2 separate regions of the Homo sapiens genome follow, and region 2 is linked to region 1. The links are contacts of gene promoters, found by promoter capture Hi-C in human tissues and cell types (Jung and others, 2019). All regions are on one chromosome and are shown on one strand. The core of a region is centred on a gene start or on the middle of the fragment in contact, and the rest is flanking DNA. Distances in the headings are between cores, read along the strand shown.

What was found. Contacts are between HindIII fragments. The study calls those that stand out against the background at their distance.
Region 2: a fragment that was not itself captured here is called in contact with the fragment with the promoter of TOMM40 in region 1 in 1 of the 25 tissues and cell types used here (lymphoblastoid cells).

What each region holds. Positions count from the first base shown.
Region 1 is chr19:44,889,435-44,894,039 of GRCh38, forward strand. It overlaps TOMM40 (translocase of outer mitochondrial membrane 40), which reads left to right and starts at 1,820. Exons shown (of 9, transcript NM_001128917.2): 1 at 1,820-2,255; 2 at 2,959-3,026; 3 at 3,403-3,495; 4 at 4,346-4,447; 5 at 4,527-4,605. The coding sequence starts at 1,982. RefSeq lists enhancers at 376-877, 1,047-1,206 and a silencer at 1,517-2,156. The HindIII fragment of the contact is 8,270 bases long and covers 1-4,605 here.
Region 2 is chr19:45,306,850-45,311,092 of GRCh38, forward strand. It overlaps CKM (creatine kinase, M-type), which reads right to left. Exons shown (of 8, transcript NM_001824.5): 6 at 1,560-1,683; 7 at 612-801; 8 at 1-79. Among named protein-coding and RNA genes, the nearest start is that of CKM, 14 kb to the right of the region's middle. RefSeq lists a silencer at 1,681-1,838. The HindIII fragment of the contact is 3,883 bases long and covers 455-4,243 here.

The DNA.
Region 1 (4,605 bases), core at 570-3,069:
GGAGTCTCGCTCTGTCGCCCAGGCTGGAGTGCAGTGGCATGATCTCGGCTCACTGCAAGCTCCACCTTCTGAGTTAACGCCATTCCTCTGCCTCAGCCTCCCGAGTAGCTGGGACTACAGGCGCCCACCACCACGCCCGGCTTATTTTTTGTATTTTTAGTAGAGACGGGGTTTCACCGCGTTAGCCAAGATGGTCTCGATCTCCTGACCTCGTGATCCACCCGTCTCGGCCTCCCAAAGTGCTGGGATTACAGGCGTGAGCCACTGCGCCCAGCCCTAAAAACAGAATGTTGAGTAATGGAATGGGGAGGGGTCCAGGGCATGCTGTTTAATGAACATTCATAATTGCAACAGCAGTATGATGAATGGGACAAAGATAAAAATAGCAATTGGCCAGATGCAGTGGCTCATTCCTGTAATTCCAGCACTTCGGGAAACTGAGGCGGGAAGCTCGACTGAGTCCAGGAGTTAAGAGACCAGCCTGGGAAACACAGTGAGACCCCGCCTCTACGAAAGTTAGCCGGGCGTGGTGGCACGCACCTGTAGTTCAGCTACTCTGGAGGCTGAGGTAGGAGGATCGATTGAGGCCAGAAGTTCAAGGCTGCAGTAAGCTATGATGGCGCCACTGCACTCCAGCCTGAGTGACAGAGTCCAACCTTGTCTTTAAAAAAATAAAAATTAAAAAAGCAGTAACGAAAGTATAAGAGGCTCAAGTTTAATGAATAAACGGCAAGTAAAAGTAGACTAAAGGCAAAATCATGAATAATGTTGTAATAGGAGCCCAAGGCATGACGGATAATAAACCTGAATGAATGGGCCAGAGGCAGAGTGATGAATAATGGAAAAATAGGGACCGGGGGCAAGGGAGGTAACGGACAGGAGTTCATGGATCCAAAACATGATGGCTAATTAGAGAAGGGCCGGAAGAACGACGAAAGTGAGCAGGCAGGCTGGAGCTAAAAGTAGTCTGGGCAATGAAGCTCAAATGAATGGGGCAGAGGCATGATGGGTAATGGGAGAGGAATGAATGGGCCAAAGATAGAAGCCGCAGTGACGCGAGGAACAAGAGGCATGATGGGTAACGAAAGGGGTGGGTCTAAGGCAACTGTTTCGCTAAGAGGTGATGAGGGCATTGTGGGTAACGAGGAGCAGCGCAGGGTTCGCAGAACAGATTAGAATTCTCCCGAGGCACTCTGGGAAGGGCCAGCACTTCCGGTTTTAGGTCGGCTACTCCGAACCAGAGGTGGGGTGGGGGCCCGGCTGCCGCGGTGCCTGGTGGGACGCGAGGCCTGACCTTGCTGCCTAGCCGCCTCTGCCGCGCAACCCACCTTTACCTGTCCTTCGACCCTGGAACGTTAGCCAATGAGAGTACCAAGCTGATACGCCACCAAGGTCGACCCCGTACACGCTGGAGCCAATCAAAATGCTGCAAGGGTCAAAGCCGACCAATTATCACAGCAACCTCGCCGCGGGGCGGAATCAAAAGAGGGCCTCCTCCAGGAGAGAGGCGGGGCGATGCCTCAGCGGGCGTGGCAAAATGCTCAGCACAGACCAATGGCGGGTTAGCACCGGAACCCGCGGCGACGCGAGCCAATAGGCGCAGGCGCTGCGAGCCAATGGGAAGGGTGGGAGGGGCGCCGTGGCTACCCTGCGAGTGAGAACCAATACAAAAGGACATTTCAGGGAAAGTGGGCGGGACTTTATGCACAAGTCCAATGGGAAGACCGAGTCTTGACGCTGGTGGGCGGGCCTCAGGGCACACTAAACCAATGGGCTAGGTGGGGCGGGGCGACGGTGGTGGCGGCGGCGGCAGCGGGTTCGGTTGCGCGTGGCGCACGGGGTGGGAGCGGAGCCCAGGCCGGGAGCAGGCGCCGCCGCCAGTGAGAACCGGGGCCGGAGCCGGGTGCGGATTTGCTGGGGCTGAGTCGGGGGCGCGCGGGCCCTGACCTCTGCCCTCTGACCTCTCCCCTAGCAGGCGACCATGGGGAACGTGTTGGCTGCCAGCTCGCCGCCCGCAGGGCCGCCACCGCCGCCTGCGCCGGCCCTCGTGGGGCTGCCGCCACCTCCGCCCTCGCCGCCGGGCTTCACGCTGCCGCCGCTGGGAGGCAGCCTGGGCGCCGGCACCAGTACGAGTCGAAGTTCGGAACGGACCCCCGGGGCTGCAACCGCCAGCGCCTCAGGGGCCGCCGAGGATGGGGCCTGCGGCTGCCTGCCCAACCCGGGCACATTCGAGGAGTGCCACCGGAAGTGCAAGGGTGAGGGGCGAGGGGCCCCCGCTGGGCTGCGATGGCCTGGATCTCGGGGGAAGGGGGAGGACACTGGGGACTCTGGGATTTGGCGCGCACCATTGGAATTATTTAACAGCACTAGGAGGTGATGTTGGGATCGAATGGTGGAACGTTGGACTTGGGGCTTAGAATGATGGAATCAAATGCTGGAAACGGGATGGAATGTCATAGCAGTAGAGAAAAGCCTTTAGGGACCTGAGGAGCCCCGGGATCAGCCAAGCCAGACTTCTCTTGTGATCGGGAAGGCAACTGAGGCCCAAGGTCACGGTGTCAGCAAGGTGTCAGCGAGGTTCCTTGGGTATGGGACCCAAAGCCTCCGGATCCCAGCCTGGAGCAATTAGAGTAGTAGTAGTGGTGGAGATTTATGGAGTTCTGTTCTGGTGTTCATTATACGTTAACTCATTAGATCCTTGGGACAATTCTGTGTGGTGAGGGTCCCATCTTTCAGATGATGAGTTTGACCTAAAGTTGCTCAGCTTGGTGGCAGTGAGATTTGAGCAAGCAAAGGCCCTGGCCCTGTCTAACTAGGCTGTACTGCCTCTTTACAGGTGGAATCCTTTGTGAGATGTTCTGCTGTGGGTCTCTGGAGAGAGCTGGGGGTGGTAGGGAAGGAAGAGATGAGAGTTGGTGTGGGGTTGGAGTGGAGTGTGACAGCGTTTCTCTTCTCCAGAGCTGTTTCCCATTCAGATGGAGGGTGTCAAGCTCACAGTCAACAAAGGGTTGAGTAACCATTTTCAGGTGAGCCTTCCTGGTGTCCTTACCCACCAGAGATCGTCCCCGCCGTCCCCCTCCCTGCATCTGCACACTCGGCCCAATTACTCCTCCCTCAAGAGCTGGGCTCCCTGATACTTGAAAAGACTCGGAGATATAGTGCCAGACTGACTACTCAGTTTGGGGACCTAGAATCCAGAGGTACTGTCTCCCCATAGCAGCTAGGCTGGAGTGAAGGAACAGGTCTGTGGGCCTACCGGCAGCACCTCCTTTCTCTGAGTCTCTTAGTCAGGCCGTGCCTCCCAGTCTTCATCCCCTGCCCAGCCCAGAGACCTTGTCCTTGCCCTCTTCAGTGGGCAAGCCTATCTGTCCAGTATCGTCACAGCTCTCGCTTTCCTTCCAGGTCAACCACACAGTAGCCCTCAGCACAATCGGGGAGTCCAACTACCACTTCGGGGTCACATATGTGGGGACAAAGCAGCTGAGTCCCACAGAGGTGAGCTTCCTTTTTCATCCATTCATTGTATCCTTCTAATAACAAATTTGTAGCCAAATGTCAAGCTAAGACGGCCTCATCAGGAAAAGGTCACAGCTACCGAGAGCCTGGAGATGGGGATTGCATCTCTCCGAGGTGCACTGGGACACAAATAATTCCTTCATCCAGCAAACATCCGCCAAACCCCTGCTCTCTGCCTGGCCCCATGCTGAGCAGTGCTGGGGATGTGGCCACAGCCACCCTGTCACCAGACAGCGATGACCCAGGGTGGAAAGGGCTGGACTGTAGATCATGCAGAACTTTGAATGCCAGACTAGGCTTTGGACTTTCTCTAGGGGGTTGTGGAGAGTCATGGCATGGTTTGGTCAAGGGAAAGACGTGGTCCACAGGTTCCCGCTGTAGAAATCTCTGGGGCATCTCTGGGGTGGCCATGTGGGGGCTAGTTATTAGGAAGGGCAAAACTGGAGGCCCAGACAGGGTTGGGGGGACTGAATGAGGTCTCTGCTTCTGTCATTTCCCTTCAGCAAATGTGTTTATTCTGCAAACCTTCATTGCACAACACATTCTGTGCCCAGCCCTGTGCTGGCACACATGACTGAAACAGCATGGGACTCACCCGTGGGGCAGGGGACAGACTGTTCCCAGAGAGTAACAAGCCAGGATGGGCAAGGCTGACATGGGGGAACCCAAAGGTCGGGGAGCCTAACTCAGCTTAGGTGGTCAGAGAGCACTTCGTGGAGGAGGGGACCCCCATCCGAGGCTTTCTGACCCTAGGCTTCTCACCCCGGCCCATCTCACATACTTGCACAGTGCACCACCTCTGACCCCTTCCGTTCTCTCTGCCTCACAGGCGTTCCCTGTACTGGTGGGTGACATGGACAACAGTGGCAGTCTCAACGCTCAGGTCATTCACCAGCTGGGCCCCGGTCTCAGGTCCAAGATGGCCATCCAGGTGAGTGGGGCACGGAGGCTGCTGCTCCCCTCGGCCACCGTGAGCAGGGAGCCGCCCTCACACCCCCTCCTCTCCACAGACCCAGCAGTCGAAGTTTGTGAACTGGCAGGTGGACGGGGAGTATCGGGGCTCTGACTTCACAGCAGCCGTCACCCTGG
Region 2 (4,243 bases), core at 1,146-3,645, 420 kb after region 1:
TGTTCTACTTCGGACGAGCCCAGCCGATCAGCGTTGGACACGTCAAATACTGAGCCCACGGCAGCTGTGTCCACGCCACCTGTGGGAGCAAGGGACAGGGGCGTGAAGAGGCAGCGAAGGTGCAGAGGGGCTGGGACGTGGCCCCCGTGCCAAATGCAACAGCCGCATGTAGTGAGTGCCTACTGTGTAACAGGTTACCTGCACACAGGTAATGCCTGTTCATTCGTGAGCTCACGAGTCTCTGACTTCAGATGGGGTACCACGCCACTCAGTTATCAAACATAGTATAGTGGGTAAGAGAGTGGGTTCTGGAGCCAGGCGGCCTAGGGTCGAATCCTGACCACTCCTCGCTTTATAAATGGGGAAACTGAGGCCCCGAGGGAGGTCCAAGGGCATGTGCAATGCATATTATATAATCATGAAAATCCCACATTGACTCCTATCACATAGGCATATTGACACCCATTTTACAGAGGAAGAAATGCAAGCTCACAGAGGGTCAGCCCTTGCCGGATCCCCAGAACTCGCAGGGATGTCGCACCTCTCCTTGCATCCCTGCAAAGGGCCCTCGCTCCCCCTCCGTCGTGGTGCAAAGGATGTGGGAGCCGTACCTGTACCCCTCTTCTGCAGACGCAGGCGGGTGAGGATCTCCTCGAACTTGGGGTGCTTGCTCAGGTGCGCCAGCTTCACATGCACGCCTCCACGCAGCCCAGTGCCCAGGTTGGATGGGCAGGTGAGCACGTAGCCCAGGTGCTGGTTCCACATGAAGGGGTGGCCAGCTTTCTTAAAGATCTCCTCAATCTGAGGTTCAGAGAGAGGACCAGGGGTCAGCGCCGGCAGGCACCCCCAAATGCACCCGCAACATGGACAGGGTCCGGAGGGACAGGGCGTGGGAACGTGGTGGAGGTGGGATTCTGAGGGGAACAGGGAGGTAGGAGATTCCGAGGGTGCTGGCTAGACAATGGGGACCAAGGCAGGATTTTGAGGGGCGGGGACTAAGAACGCTTTGAAGGCGGGTTTTTTTTTTTTTTTTTTCCAGAGTCTCTCTGTGTCACCCAGGCTGGAGTGCAATGGCGTGATCTCGTCTCACTGCAACCTCTGCCTCCCAGGTTCAAGCGATTCTCCTGCCTCAGCCTCCCGAGTAGCTGGGACTACAGGCGCGCGCCACTACGCCTGGATAATTTATTTATTTATTAATTTTTTAGTATAGAGACGGGGTTTCACCATGTTGGCCAGGCTGGTCTTGAACTCCTGACCCTCCTCAGCCTCCCAAAGTGCTGGGATTACAGGCGTGAGCCACCGCTCCCGGCCTGAAGGCGGATCCTTACGGGCGGGGCTTGGGCATAGGGTGGAGCTGGGTCCAGGGGCGGGGCCCTGAAAAGCGGGTGGGGCTAGTTTTGGGGGGCGGGGTTTGGCATGGGGTGGAGCCAGGTCCGGGGGGCAGGGCCCTGGAAAATGGGTGGGGCAGGGCTTAGTATAGGGGAAGGGGCGGGGCCTCGGAAAGCAGGTGGGGCGTTCAAGGTGGAGTCAGAAGTCAGCAGCTAAGGGCAGACACCCACCTTCTGCAGCCCTACGCAGAAGCGGCGGAAAACCTCCTTCATGTTGCCCCCCTTCTCCATGGAGATGACCCGGAGGTGATCCTCCTCGTTCACCCACACCAGGAAGCTCTTGTTGTCATTGTGCCTAGAGTAAGGTGCCGCAGCAAGAGGCCAAGGTGTCAGCCCCGTGGGAACCCCATTCCCAGCCCTCCCCCAAAACATCTGCCCACCGATGGGGGAAGAGGGCCTGAGGGGTGGGAGGTGGGTGGCATCTGCCTCCTCAAAACGCAGAAGCTTAAACCTGTAGACTCTAATGTCACAGGATCTGCAAAACGCTGAATCCTGGGATCAAGGACTTTTAGGGACTTAAGTCTTTGAACAGTATTATTATAGATCCTTGGGATCTCAGGATGTTTGACAAACAGAAGCTTGGGATCAGAACTGATAACACTTGGTAATCCTACATCTGGTTTCAGGACCAGAAAATCTTCCCATCGTAGTGTGTTAGCTCCCAATCCTAGCATCTCAGAAGCAGGATCTTAGAACATAAAATATTAAGGCTGGGTGCGGTGGCTCACGCCTGTAATCCCAGCACTTTGGGAGGCCGAGGCGGGCGGATCACAAGGTCAGGAGATCGACACCATCCTGGCTAACACGTCGAAACCCTGTCTCTACTAAAAAATACAAAAAAAAATCTGGGCATGGTGGCGGGCATCTGTAGTCCCAGCTACTCAGGAGGCTGAGGCAAGAGAATGGCGAGAACCCGGGAGGTGGAGCTTGCAGTGAGTCGAGATCGCGCCACTGCACTCCAGCCTGGGCAACAGAGCGAGACTCCATCTCAAAAAAAAAAAAAAAAAAGAACATAAAATATTAAGATCCGGAAATGGCCGGGTGTGGTGGCTCATGCCTGTAATCCCAGCACTTTGGGAGGCCAAGGCCGGAGGATTGCTTGAGCCCAGGAGTTCAAGACTACCCTGGGCAACATGGCAAGACCCACATATCTACAAAATTTAAAAAATTAGCAGGCATGGTGGGACACATGCCTGTAGTCCAAGCCACTGGGGAGGCTGAGGCGGGAGGATCACTTGACCTTGGAAGGTCCAGGCTGCAGCGAGCTATGATCCCACCACTGCACTCCAGCCTGGGCAACAGAGCAAGACCCTGTCTCAAAAAAAAAAAAAAAAAAACCTGAGGGCAGGCATGGTGGCTCACGCTTGTAATCCCAGCACTTTGGGAGGCTGAGGTGGGCGGATCACTTAAGGTGAAGAGTTCGAGACCAGCCTGAGCAACATGGCAGAACGCTGTCTCTACCAAAAATACGAAAACTAGCTGGGCACAGTGGCACATGCCTGTCGTCCTAGCTACTAAGGAGGCGGAGGGTGAGAGGATCGTTTGAACCCGGGAGATGGAGGTTTCAGTGAGTCGAGATCAACCCACTGCACTCCAGCCTGGGCCTCAGAGTGAGAGTCCATCTCAAAATAAATAAATAAATAAATGAGTGGAATCTTAAAACCTAAAAATATTTAAAATCTTGAAATCTTAGAATCATCCCATCTGTATATCTTAGCACCCAGGCTCCCTTCATCGATTGAAACCTAGGTTCTCTAAATCTTTGACTATCTGAATCAGGGATTCAAAGAGTCAAAACAAGTCTAGCAATAATACTTTATAATAAAGATAAGACGAATAACCAAGATGTACTGAACACTTAGTGTATACCAGGCACTGCTTTTTTTTTTTTTTTTTTTTTTGAGACAGAGTCTTGGTCTGTCGCCCAGGCTGGAGTGCAGTGATGCGATCTTGGCTCACTTCAAGCTCCGCCTCCCGGGTTCACGCCATTCTCCTGCCTCAGCCTCACGAGTAAGTAGGACTACAGGCGCCTGCCACCAAGCCCAGCTAATTTTTTGTATTTTTAGTAGAGACGGGGTTTCACCATGTTAGCCAGGATGGTCTCGATCTCCTGACCTCGTGATCCGCCCGCCTTGGCCTCCCAAAGTGCTGGGATTACAGGCGTGAGCCACCGCGCCTGGCCCAGGCACTGCTTTTAATACTTTACATAAATTAACTCATTTAATCCTCACAAGAACACCAGAAACTACAAATTATTGTGATCCCTATCCTATAGCTAGGAAACTGGGGTAGAGAAAAATAAAATAAGTTGCCCAAGGTCACAAAGCTAGTAAAGTTAGTAAATGGTAGAGCTGGGATTTGAACCTAGGGAGTACGGTTCAAGTCTGAGTTCTTATTTTTGAGACAGGTAGCTGGAGTGCAGTACCTCGGTCATGATTCACAGTAACCTCAATCCTCTGGGCCCAGCTGATCCTCAGCCTCTCGAGTAGCTGGGACCACAGGTATACGCCATCACGCCTGGCTTTTTTTTTTTTTTTTTTTTTTTTTTTTTTTTGAGACGGAGTCTCCTGTCGCCCAGGCTGGAGTGCAGTGGCACGATCTCAGCTCACTGCAAGCTCCGCCTCTTGGGTTCAGGCCATTCTCCTGCCTCAGCCTCCCAAGTAGCTGGGACTACAGGCGCCTGCCACGACGCCGGGCTAATTTTTTTTTTTTTTTTGTAGTTTTAGTAGAGACGGGGTTTCACCGTGTTAGCCAGGATGGTGTCAATCTCCTGACCTCGTGATCCGCCCACCTTGGCCTCCCAAAGTGCTGGGATTACAGGCGTGAGCCACCGCGCCTGGCTTTTTTTTTTTTTA